Regions from separate parts of the Homo sapiens genome. Here regions 1, 2 and 3 are each linked to region 4. Evidence: promoter capture Hi-C in human tissues and cell types (Jung and others, 2019). All regions are on one chromosome and are shown on one strand. The core of a region is centred on a gene start or on the middle of the fragment in contact, and the rest is flanking DNA. Distances in the headings are between cores, read along the strand shown. Region 1 has its middle 130 kb from the start of LMO3. Region 2 overlaps MGST1 (microsomal glutathione S-transferase 1). Region 3 has its middle 150 kb from the start of LMO3. Region 4 holds the start of LMO3 (LIM domain only 3).

Region 1 (2,743 bases), core at 30-2,529, 130 kb after region 4:
ATTTATGCATTCAGCATCACTATCATCACCACCATCACCATTATTATCAACATCATCATTCTCTTCATTATCATCAAATCAAATTATTATAGGAATTTTGAACAAATCACTTGCATAGATGTAAAAAATTGAGATATTTTCTAGAAATGTGTGGTGTCATTATTTTTCTGAAACTACTTATAATATACTTGGTTAGGTTTGGAGGGATGACATGCTACAGCAACCGAGAACAGACTCTTTCAACTCTCTTTCATGAGTGTCAACATGCCTCTCATTAATTTATTTACATAGAGTTTTAGTTTGTTGGAAAAAAATTTCTGCCTTTTCTACTTATTATCCATGGAATTTTGGGCAAATAACTCTATTTCCTCATCTGTAAAAAGGGCAGCTACTGGTGTCTACCCTAAAAGATATCAGTAAAATTCATTAAACTGTTTCATAAAGTATAGACCACTTATATACATTTGTGATATAATCTTTACCGTGTCATTTGAAGCACATTTATAAGGTTTTAAAACCTCTATTTTTATATTTAAGGTTGCACAAGATGATATGCATGGTTCTATGGCTCTAAGATCTTCCATTGTAACTTGACATTTGAATATTCATTTTTTGATTGTCCACAGTTGTTTTTATTAAGTTTTTCTTAATTGCAGAGAATAATAACTCAAATAACCTTAAGCAAAAAGCAATTTGATAAGAGAACGTACATATTGGAATGGGAAGACAAAAGTCAACAGGAAAGAACACAACTATCCTTCTTGTAGGGTCTGCAATGTCATATTCACTCTCTGTCCCTTGGTCTCCCTCTGTCTTTCTCTCTTTTTCAGTGATTCTCATTTCAATTTAAACTTTATCTGAAGGCCAGCTTCTCTATTTAGTCATTGTTAATATTTCCTTATAATTTAGACTTGCAAACAGATTTTAACTTCCCATGACCTTACCCCACCTCTTACCATTCTTATTACTCTTACCATTCTTATTATATTACTTTGACCAAGTATAATACAAAATATGGCACCTGCCTTCAGCAGAGCCTTGACCCTAGGTCCTTCTTCCGCAGTGATGTGGGATGGTGAGCAATGATCGTCTCTATTAAGTATGGTTGGCATCGTCAAAATTATTTCAGGTAAAAAACACAAGCATGGGGAATTTAGCAAGATGGGTATGACTATCCCCTCATCTATTTTGTGCATTGAGTACAGATCCATACTTTTATTATGACAGCCTGAAATTATGTAAGCCAGGGAACAAAACCTCTCTAAAATGCGGGGGAAATATAGGTGGGAAATAGAGTTGAATGAAGGTTGGAATTTAAGCATAAGAGACAGACCGGGAAGAAAATGGTCCTAAAAGTAATATTACAAAAATGGTATTTCTTCATATAATGTGGTTTTTCTAATCACTGAGGGAGCAAAAAAATTAAAATACGAGTTTATGAAACGTAATGAAAACACAACAAATCTCAACACCATGATTGCCAATGACCTGAAGATCAAGAGCATTTTGTTGTCAGATCATTTAGGCTGTGGTTTTCCCAAAGACTACTCTCTAGAACTAGTGTCATACTTGGGTAATAGCACTTTGAAGACTCTGTAGTTAGTGTCTTAATAGATAAAAATTAGTTGTCAGACACATCTCCAGGTCATTTAATCTCTTTCATTTTATCCCTCTAAAATATTTCTGCTAAAGCACCCAAATAACACAACTAATCTTTAATAATCCACTTAGTATTTCCACAAAAGATTTGCATGTTTCACTGATATTTTGGTAGCTGCTTCTTGAGTTTATGAAGGATCAAACACATCAAGAAATTTACTATAATTTTATTTTGCATCAATTTTCTAAAATATTACCAATGGTTTATTAGCCACTAAAATATCAGAATTAACCTATTACTTAGCAATATAATTTTCTTAATTCTTAGTCACACTTCACCCTAATGCAGATCTCTCAAAAATCTAGTTTAATTCAATATGAAGGATAAAGAAAATCAGATCCAATGCACAAGTAATAAATATGTGGCTCTTGCCATGTTAATAAAATGCAAAATAAGAAAAACATCAAGAAAATGAATTACTAGTTTTGTTTTTATAAAACTTAAGCTTCCAGAGGACAAGAATGTTGTCTAACGTATGTCCAAGGTTGTGTACTGTTGGCACTTGGATATTAAAATTCAATATTTACAAGTGAAACATAATTTACTGAGCCATTCCAATGCACAAGCAAATGGGATGTATTGAATATCTTGGGATTGCTGAAATGCACTTTGATTTTATGCAACATCTTGTTAACTTTATCTGTTTTTCATAGCTCTTTTCCATTAGAGGGAGGGCAAGGGGAAAATTGGATCAAGGTCTTGCTTTTTAATACTAGGCATCAACACTATGAAAAAAAATCAAAGACACATTAATAAACTAAATATTACCTCCCACCGCTCTCTGGCTACCAGGCACACACAGTTCTTTCCACGGGACTCCTAAGAGGGCTTTCAATAAAGTAAAACTGTGATTTTGACATTTTTCTTGCTCGCTGCCAGGAAATTCTAAATTGAGTCCCAGTTGTTTTTCAGATTAATCCATTGGAGAAAAGAGAATCTGAACACAGTATTTTACAACTTTTTGAAAATGCATTTAGGCTAAATTTAGGTCTGGGTATATGTATATATCGCTAATTATAAAATGGTCCTCTTACATCAAGCACACCTTAGGAACATGGCTGTTAAAAAAGATGAGGTAAGGCA
Region 2 (2,749 bases), core at 206-2,705, 240 kb before region 4:
ACATTCCATTCTATTTGTCAACTGCGTAACACAGGCGTAGAAGTGGACATTGTTTTCCAGAGAGTCTCCTTTTTATAGTTTCTTCCTCAACCTTAAAATGTCTGTCCTTTTGGCATGTTGTGAAGGAGAACACTAACGTGCCTAAGATTGGAGGTGACGATATCTCTGTGATGCTGGGGGAGAAATCACAGGGGCAAAACAAATACTCTAGGTGTCATTGACAAAGTGGGCCCTTCTTTAATAGAAAATGGTATTCCTGTCTTTTCTTTCCCATCTCATTCTCAGTAGTACTTGTATTGCTCCATGAAAGAGAGGGCACAGGAACACTCACACCATCCTCTCTTTGCTTTTATTCTGTATTGAAGCCTTTTCAAATCATTACTTAGCTGGGCTGCTGCTGTCCTCTTCATGTCTCTATGTAGTCATCCTCTTTGTGAGACAAGCTTAGAGATAATCTAGGGAAGACAAGACAAAGGAAAGGAGAGGAGGAGAGTGACGATCGTTGAGCAGGCAATATGTAATAATTATATGCTTATTGCTATAGAAGAGAGTAACGTAAAGCAGAAATAGTTTTCATTTTGAAATACATATCAATAGCTGACAAACTATCAAATTCTCCATTTCTAGCCTAGATTCTAAAGCAATTTCTAATTCTGTAGACTTAAGGGAGGTGACATTTTAAAATTAAGTATTTTTAAAAATGTTGCTGGGCATGATGGCTTGCACCTATAAACCCAGTGTTTTGGGAGGCTGAGGCTGGAGGACTGCTTGAGACCAGGTGTTCAAGACCAGCCTGGGCAACATAGCAAGACCCCATCTCTAAAAAGAAAATTTAAAAAATTAGCCAGGCATGGTGGTGAGGCCTGTAGTCCCAGCTACTCATGATGCTGAGACTCAGGAGTTTGAGGCTGCAGTGAGCTATGATTGTACCACTGCACTTCAGCCTGAGCAACAGAGCAAGACCCCCTCTCTAAAAACAACAATAGCAATGACAACAATAATAATAAAAATGTCAAGTCCATAGTAGATGTGTTTTGTATTCGGTCTTAGCCAGAGAAACCCAAGATGCCACGGTTTGGAGCAAAACTGTGGCTAAAACATGCTTTTTGTTTTCTTCTAGCTCTGTTATAAAGAAAACATTTAGGAAATTCTCTCTTTCTCTCTTTCACCTATCCTACTTTTTGTGTGTCCTTTGTAGTTTTGCACCATCATTCCTAACGAATTTATTTGGCATTTGGAAGATAGGTTAGCAAAAATTTTACTATATTTGAAAGGCTAGTTATGTATTCTGTTATTTAGATATAAGAGCATGAGAGTCTTGATATTAAATTGGTAAATTAATTATTGGCAACCTAGTGGTTTGGGTTGGCAAGGATTCTGTCAATAATCATTTGGTAGAGTAGCAGAAGCAAAGGAGGTGTCTTAAGAAAAATCAACACCAAAAGGGTTTTCTTCCTTCGGGAGAAAGAATTTTTATAAAAAGAATCTTGAATTGCTAATTGTTATGAACCTCATAAGAAAAAAGTATTTTTATTTACAAAAATGAAATGAGTTCTATTAGATAGATGTCGTTTTGATATTCTAGGAACTACAAAATGCCTTCTGTGATATTTAAAGATACACTAAAAATAAAAAGAAACAGAAATAATGAGAGATTCTAAATAAAAGTCAAGTGGGCAAGGAAGCAAGACAATTTGAGAGAAAAAAAATAAATCTTACTTTGAAATTTAAGGATCCATTAGTGCTCAGATTTAGTTTTTAGAAGAGAGAGAAAAAAGGATACATATCTAGTATTTTGAAATTAGTGTCTTTAATAGTTATCTTTTTCCACAGAGCCCACCTGAATGACCTTGAAAATATTATTCCATTTCTTGGAATTGGCCTCCTGTATTCCTTGAGTGGTCCCGACCCCTCTACAGCCATCCTGCACTTCAGACTATTTGTCGGAGCACGGATCTACCACACCATTGCATATTTGACACCCCTTCCCCAGCCAAATAGAGCTTTGAGTTTTTTTGTTGGATATGGAGTTACTCTTTCCATGGCTTACAGGTTGCTGAAAAGTAAATTGTACCTGTAAAGAAAATCATACAACTCAGCATCCAGTTGGCTTTTTAAGAATTCTGTACTTCCAATTTATAATGAATACTTTCTTAGATTTTAGGTAGGAGGGGAGCAGAGGAATTATGAACTGGGGTAAACCCATTTTGAATATTAGCATTGCCAATATCCTGTATTCTTGTTTTACATTTGGATTAGAAATTTAACATAGTAATTCTTAAGTCTTTTGTCTGATTTTTAAAGTACTTTCTTATAAATTTGGATCATGTTATGATTTGTAACATTCACACAACACCTCACTTTTGAATCTATAAAAGAATTGCACGTATGAGAAACCTATATTTCAATACTGCTGAAACAGACATGAAATAAAGAATTTAAAGAATGATTTTGTTTGGTTTTATTTTTCCCAACATTTTATTTTCAAAAGTTTCAAACCTAGGGTAAAGTTGAAAAATAGTACAAAGAACCACTCTGTACCCTGCTTAGAATCGCCAGTTGTTAACATTTTGCATATTTGCTTTCCTTCTCTCTCTGTTTTCTTTTTCTCTGAAACATCTGAGAGTAAGTGGCAGATATCATGACATGTCACTCTTTAAAACTTCAGCACGTTTTTCCTATGAACAAGACATTCTCCAAATAACTACAATACCATTATTACACCCAAGACACTTAGTATTAATATACT
Region 3 (2,807 bases), core at 305-2,804, 150 kb after region 4:
AGTGTGGCTGGCCATAAGCCTATATTCAATCCAATACTCTGTGAGCAGAAATGTGCATAAATTCTACGTCATCTCTTAAGGGAGAAATCTACTTTCTCTAGGCCCTCTGTTTCCCCCTATTGCTCAGAAATAGTAAAAAATGCATCAACAGCCACTTAGATCCTGGAAGACTTTGGAAGTCTTGTGGAGTATGGTTGTCTCCTGCCCTACACAACTACTTTGCTCATAAATTGTTAGGTAAAAGGGAAATACTCTTCTAATTTCCTGTAAAACATTATATTTTAGGGTCTTTTTATAGAAGCTTAGAGTGTATCCTAAAAACTTCATAAAATTAGTTTCTCTAACTCCAGTTTTACTCCACTCTATGCCCATAATTTTAAATGAGTATACTCATTCTAAAATGCAAATATTGATAGGTCAATTCCTTATTTAAAATTTAGAACTGGCATTTGCTTTGCTGTATTTCCAAATTTTCAAAAATAAACATATATTGGTTTTATAATGATGAGGAAATAAATAAATCCATTAGTGACTCCCTCAAGACTTTAAAATAAAGTTCAAGCTGCTTAGTGGGACTAAAATCCCTTCATGTTTTGCATTCTGTCCATTTCTGGAGTCTTAACTTTTGCCACACCCTCACAGGCCTCCTGTCACTGGAGTCCCTGGTTGGTGGCAGGCCCTTGTATACATCTGCATCTTTACAACTTCTGCTCTCTCTCTGGATACATTTTCCATGTTTTCTGCTAGACTAATGGCTACTCATCCTTCAAAGCTTAGGTCTAGACTCAGGTCAGTATTGGATTCTCCGTAATCTCTTTTCTAATGCCTAAGGATCAGTTAAATGTCCCTCATCTGTGTCTTGACAGAATCCTATCAGTATCTTTACTGGGCACTTCCCACATTAAACTCCATCAATTTCTCAACCAGACTTTGTCTATTCTGCAATAAAAAATGTGCTCTCAGCCCAGTGCAGTGGCTCACGCCTGTAATCCCTGCACTTTGGGAGGCCAAGGTGGGAAAATCACAAGGTCAAGAGATCGAGATCATCCTGGCCTACATGGTGAAACCTCATCTCTACTAAATTACAAAAATTAGCTGGGCGTGGTGTCGCACACCTGTAATCCCAGCTACTTGGGAGGCTAAGGCAGGAGAATCATTTCAACCTGGGAGGCAGAGGTTGCAGTGAGCCGAGATCATGGCACTGCACTCCAGCCTGGCAATAGAGCAAGACTCTGTCTCGAAAAAAAAAAAAAAAAAAAAAAGTGCTCTTATTTAACCAGGTTCTGTGCTTTTTATCCTCATATCTATGAATAGTTGGTGGTCAAGTTTTCTTTAATTCAGTGAAGAGAATACACATTTTTTTACCATAATGTTAAAAGTGAGCTTAGTTCCTTCCTATCAGAATTTCCACATTTTAGTCCATATCGACTCCTTATAAAGTCATAAAATAGTAAGTATATTTAAATTGAAATGGGATATATGATTATCATAATTAGAAGCTGATTAGAAATGTATATTTTCTATTGATGTCAGCTTTCCCCAGAGACCTTAAAACTTGCACATCGTGAGACTTTAAGAAGTTTCTGAGGAATATTATTTTTGATTATTGAAGAGATAATACTTTTACAAAAAATGAAGATTATAGAAAAGTTCACAGTGTTTCATATAACAAATAATCAGTGAATGCTGAATTAATAAATAAATGAGTGGTTTGTTTTTGGTAAGTGTAGCTTATCAAACATTAAAAGACTAAATATCATTTACAAATATGCTCAAAAGCCAGTGTTTTGGTCCTTGAACACAAATAAAATTTGCCATTTGCCATATTGTTAAAAAATCTGTTAGTTCTTAGATTTCTTTGGTTAGGAAAGCATTAAAAACTCCTACAAATTGGAAAAAGATTGACTTTCTTTTTTAAACTTTCAGATCAAAATTTTATAAGGTTTTTACAAATTATTCATTCTAAAATTTTAGAACATTAATTCTAAAGGAATTAACCTTCCATTCAGAAATAGCGTGTTGGTAGACTTACATGTAAATTTGTTAGTAAAACTGAAACTGTCCCATTTATGAGCTGGTATTTTACATTTATTTTTAAAAGTTTATATTTTCCTAGACCCTTTATTTCTTGCCCTAGGCCAGGTTTGCACATAAGGAAGAGTTCATTAAAAGTAAGTTATTTTTGTATGTTTTACATATATTCATTTGTTAAGCTATTAATACAACCACACTGATACGTTTTCTGCTGCAAATATATTAAGTGTTTACTGATCAAAGAGCAATTGTATAACCAGAGCCAGTTTCATGGGTGTACAGTCTGCACAAACGATTGGGTGTTTAGAAAGTCTTTCACTTGCTTATGCTTTGCTATTAGTAGGGGCTCTGGATTTTCATTTTGTACTGGCTTCCACAAATTCTGTAGCCAGCCCTATGTATAATTTAAAAAATTATCCTAATTACATTGTCAGGGAGTGCATTGTTAAAATGCCAATTTCTAAACAGCTACCCATAAACCACAAACCCAGAGTTCTAGCTGTCTGCCAGGCTCTGTTCACCCAGCTTAGCTGTCAGGAGTAGCACACGGGTTAAAAGAGAAAGATTCTCCTAAGTGTCAATCCCTCCTGCTGGCTCAAGAGAACAAAGCTGGCAGGCAAAGTGAATCAGATAGCGCACTGTGCACGCCCCAGCTTCAGAATACAGTAAAGCCCATCGGTCTAATTTCAGCTTTTCCAGCCCTGGTAGCATCCCTTTAAGTTTACTAAGTCGGATATACCTGTAAGCAAGCAGTCTAATGTTTTTGTGATCTT
Region 4 (2,953 bases), core at 33-2,532:
TTTTCTGCATGAGTTGACTTAGGCGTGTCTGAGTTGCAGCAGCTTCGCATTGAGCACCAAACCCAAAGGTAGAAGTAGAAGGGGGTCTCCTTGATTTCGCTTAAGTGTGGACCTGGTGCGCAGCCTACACCGCCGAGGACCGACTATTGTGAAGCCACTTTGGGAGCGGGTCGGAGTGGCGGCAGGGGGTGGGGGAAGGGATGAGGACGGCCAGACAAGACAGGGCGCACACACGGAGCCCCTCGCAGTGTGCAAAATGATGGCGAATGACAAAGCCACATGCTTCCCTAACTCTGCCCGTAATCCTAAAATCCCAGCGGCCCCTTTTAGCTTCCTGGTAACAAATGGATTTGATTAAACTGTCACATGCAGCGTTAGCATAGCATATCATGTTCAATATGAAAAAGATCATAAATCTGACTTGTATTTCATAACAGCAATCTGAGTAGTCCCCGTAAAAAATGTGCTGCATCAGTTTGAATCTCAATCTATTAGGATATAGGCACCTTGGTCCAGGGACCTTCCCTCTTCTAGCCACTTCTGCCCCTACCCGCCTGCCCCCCCCCCCCGCCCCCATGCCCAAACACAGCCACTTTTCCACGGCAAAGGAACAACATTTTGTTATTATGGCTGCGTGGAGAGAGGCAGAAGCGTCAACAAGGACCAAAAGATTGTAATATCAACTCTTTAAGAAGTGGGGGTTCATGAATTCCAGCAAGTAAGGGGGAGGGGTCCGGAAACCCACCCAGGACTGAATTCTTTTCCTATGGGCTGGGAGCAAACACTTCCTAATTCCAAACTCTCCCTGCCCCTCTCTCCCCGGGAGTCAGGGGTGTGGAAATACTGCAGTTCATGGTGAACTTTGACTATTATCCACTCGAGTCGTACTTGAGACGTTCCGCGCCGCAGCCGCTCTCCCTCCTTCCATCAACATCTTCCGCCTGCATCTATTTCATGTCTCATCATAAAAATAATGAAGCCTCACATGATTTAAACAAAACCGTCTCAGTAGAGCTGCAGCCCGAGTGAAAGTTGCAGTGCGGAGCTGGGTTGCAGCTCCAGTTTATGCCTCATTAGCAGAGGTTGGGGAAGAAAAAAATACCCACATCCGCACACGCACGCGCGCACCCGCAGACACACACACCACAAATAAGCCGACGCGTGTGTACACAGTTGCTGCACTTACCTTCTCAATTAAGCGATACAGGGGGAGGCCGTTCAGTAAGCACAGTGGCTGCTTTGTAGCGCTTCTCCTTGGGAAAGGTCAAAAAGAAGCATTGTTTGAAAAAAAAAAAAAAGACGGGGGAGGGAATGTCTATTTTTTTTTAAGTTTAAAATAATGAGGTCCTCAAGGATACGCCAAGCAATGGTGTTGACCGCATCTGAGCCACAGGTGTCCTCCTTTTAGGCAACTGCAGTCCGAGGCTGTCTCTCTCCGTCCTGGTTCAAGACAACTTACCCCAGCAGCGTGCGAGGAGCCGAGCTGAAGGAAGCTCCGGCTCTCAGCTGCAAAATGCAATCCCTTCCCAGCCAGACATAATACAGCCAAAGAAAAGGTCACTCAGTTATTAGTGAGCCGGCGGAGCCCAGGCAGCGCTTGTCAAGACCACAGAGAAGCAGCTCCCTTCCGATTTAAGACTATTTACCTCTCGCCCCCACCCCTCCCCTCTTCTTTCCTTCTCTCCCTCCCTCTCTCGCTGGCTCCCTCGCTCGCTCTCGTGTGCCTGTTCTGCAGCTCAGTCAAGTACAGCCGCCCTCGGAAAGTGCAAAGCAGCCACGAGACAGATCGGGCTTTGTTGCTAATTTCCCAGGGTGAAAATTTACAAGCCTGCGAGTGCAGTCAGCACAACCACATGCATATGCTACTCACAAACGCTGGGGACAAACCCGCACACAAAATGTGACCTCTGCAGGAGTCGACTGAGGAAGGACCCTACCTCCTGGACCAGTCCAAAAGAAGAACTCCTGCGAGAGAGCTCCGGAGGAAAAGGGTAGGGTTCCTAAAATAACCAGGGCATTTTGGAATAGGTGGCTACATTTAAAGCAAATTGCCTTCCAAAGCCATTTCTGAAGCTACCAATTATGGAAATTAAAATAAAAGCAAGAGAATCAAACTGCTACCAGAATACCCTGGAAAAAGCACACAACCCTCCCCTTTAAGAAATGCCTGGAGGTGGCTGCAGTCGCTGGTCTGTCTGTGACTTCCATTCATGAACTCTCTGAAGTCGCTGCTCCGCAAGTCCGCCACACAAGCCTGGTTCAGGGGATCACACACACACTCTCCTTCCTCCCTTCCTCCCTTCCTCTAATGGCCCAAGACCCAAACTGTGAACTTGTTCTCCATTCACTAATGCTGACCCCCACCACCACCACCCCGAAACACACTTCCTGCAATTACTTGAATTCCTTACTATTTAAAACTCACACGCTCCAATGAAAAACAGCCAACAGCACTGAGAAACATGTTTTCAGGACTAACTTGGTCAAAGAACCATAGTTTCTGCACCATTACTGCTTTGTCTTCACAGGCTTGTTTTAAGGCCTTGACAGATTTTTTTTTTTTTTCTAATAGGTCCCATTCTCTCTAACCTCCTCTCCTCTTAACTTTCCTTGGCATCTATAAAGGCCACTGGTAGCTTTAAAATACCTTATTATTTTTCTAAGTTTTCAAACTTCAAAGTCACCCTCTGTTTGGGCTGCTCTTAAAGTACCCTCACCAGATTTTACAAAGCTTTGTCAGAGGTCAAGCTTAAAAATGGTCCACATTTGAAAGACACTCACTGAAATGTTTAAGAGCCAAGAAATATTCAATTGTTGAACTACAAAAAACTTTTTTTCTTCTCTTCACCATCAGTTTTAATCTAGCTCTAGTTTTAAAAAAAAAATCAAAGCACCCCCCCCATGAGTATTTAAGCTAAATTTTGTTTTTCTTCATAAAGAATAAAGGCACAAC

The links. The method cuts DNA at HindIII sites, captures the fragments that hold promoters and counts their contacts. A contact is called where the count stands out against the background at its distance.
Region 1: a fragment that was not itself captured here is called in contact with the fragment with the promoter of LMO3 in region 4 in 1 of the 25 tissues and cell types used here (heart right ventricle).
Region 2: a contact is called between a fragment that was not itself captured here and the fragment with the promoter of LMO3 in region 4, in 1 of the 25 tissues and cell types used here (mesendoderm cells).
Region 3: a fragment that was not itself captured here is called in contact with the fragment with the promoter of LMO3 in region 4 in 2 of the 25 tissues and cell types used here (H1 embryonic stem cells and aorta).

Annotation. Positions count from the first base shown.
Region 1 is chr12:16,737,459-16,740,201 of GRCh38, forward strand. No RefSeq gene overlaps it. Among named protein-coding and RNA genes, the nearest start is that of LMO3, 130 kb to the left of the region's middle. The HindIII fragment of the contact is 6,874 bases long and covers 1-2,743 here.
Region 2 is chr12:16,361,962-16,364,710 of GRCh38, forward strand. It overlaps MGST1 (microsomal glutathione S-transferase 1), which reads left to right. Exons shown (of 4, transcript NM_020300.5): 4 at 1,834-2,449. The coding sequence ends at 2,080. Among named protein-coding and RNA genes, the nearest start is that of MGST1, 16 kb to the left of the region's middle. The HindIII fragment of the contact is 4,798 bases long and covers 1-2,749 here.
Region 3 is chr12:16,754,728-16,757,534 of GRCh38, forward strand. No RefSeq gene overlaps it. Among named protein-coding and RNA genes, the nearest start is that of LMO3, 150 kb to the left of the region's middle. The HindIII fragment of the contact is 4,937 bases long and covers 1-2,807 here.
Region 4 is chr12:16,604,880-16,607,832 of GRCh38, forward strand. LMO3 (LIM domain only 3) reads right to left here and starts at 1,283. Exons shown (of 4, transcript NM_018640.5): 1 at 1,187-1,283. RefSeq lists an enhancer at 1-217. The HindIII fragment of the contact is 10,363 bases long and covers 1,028-2,953 here.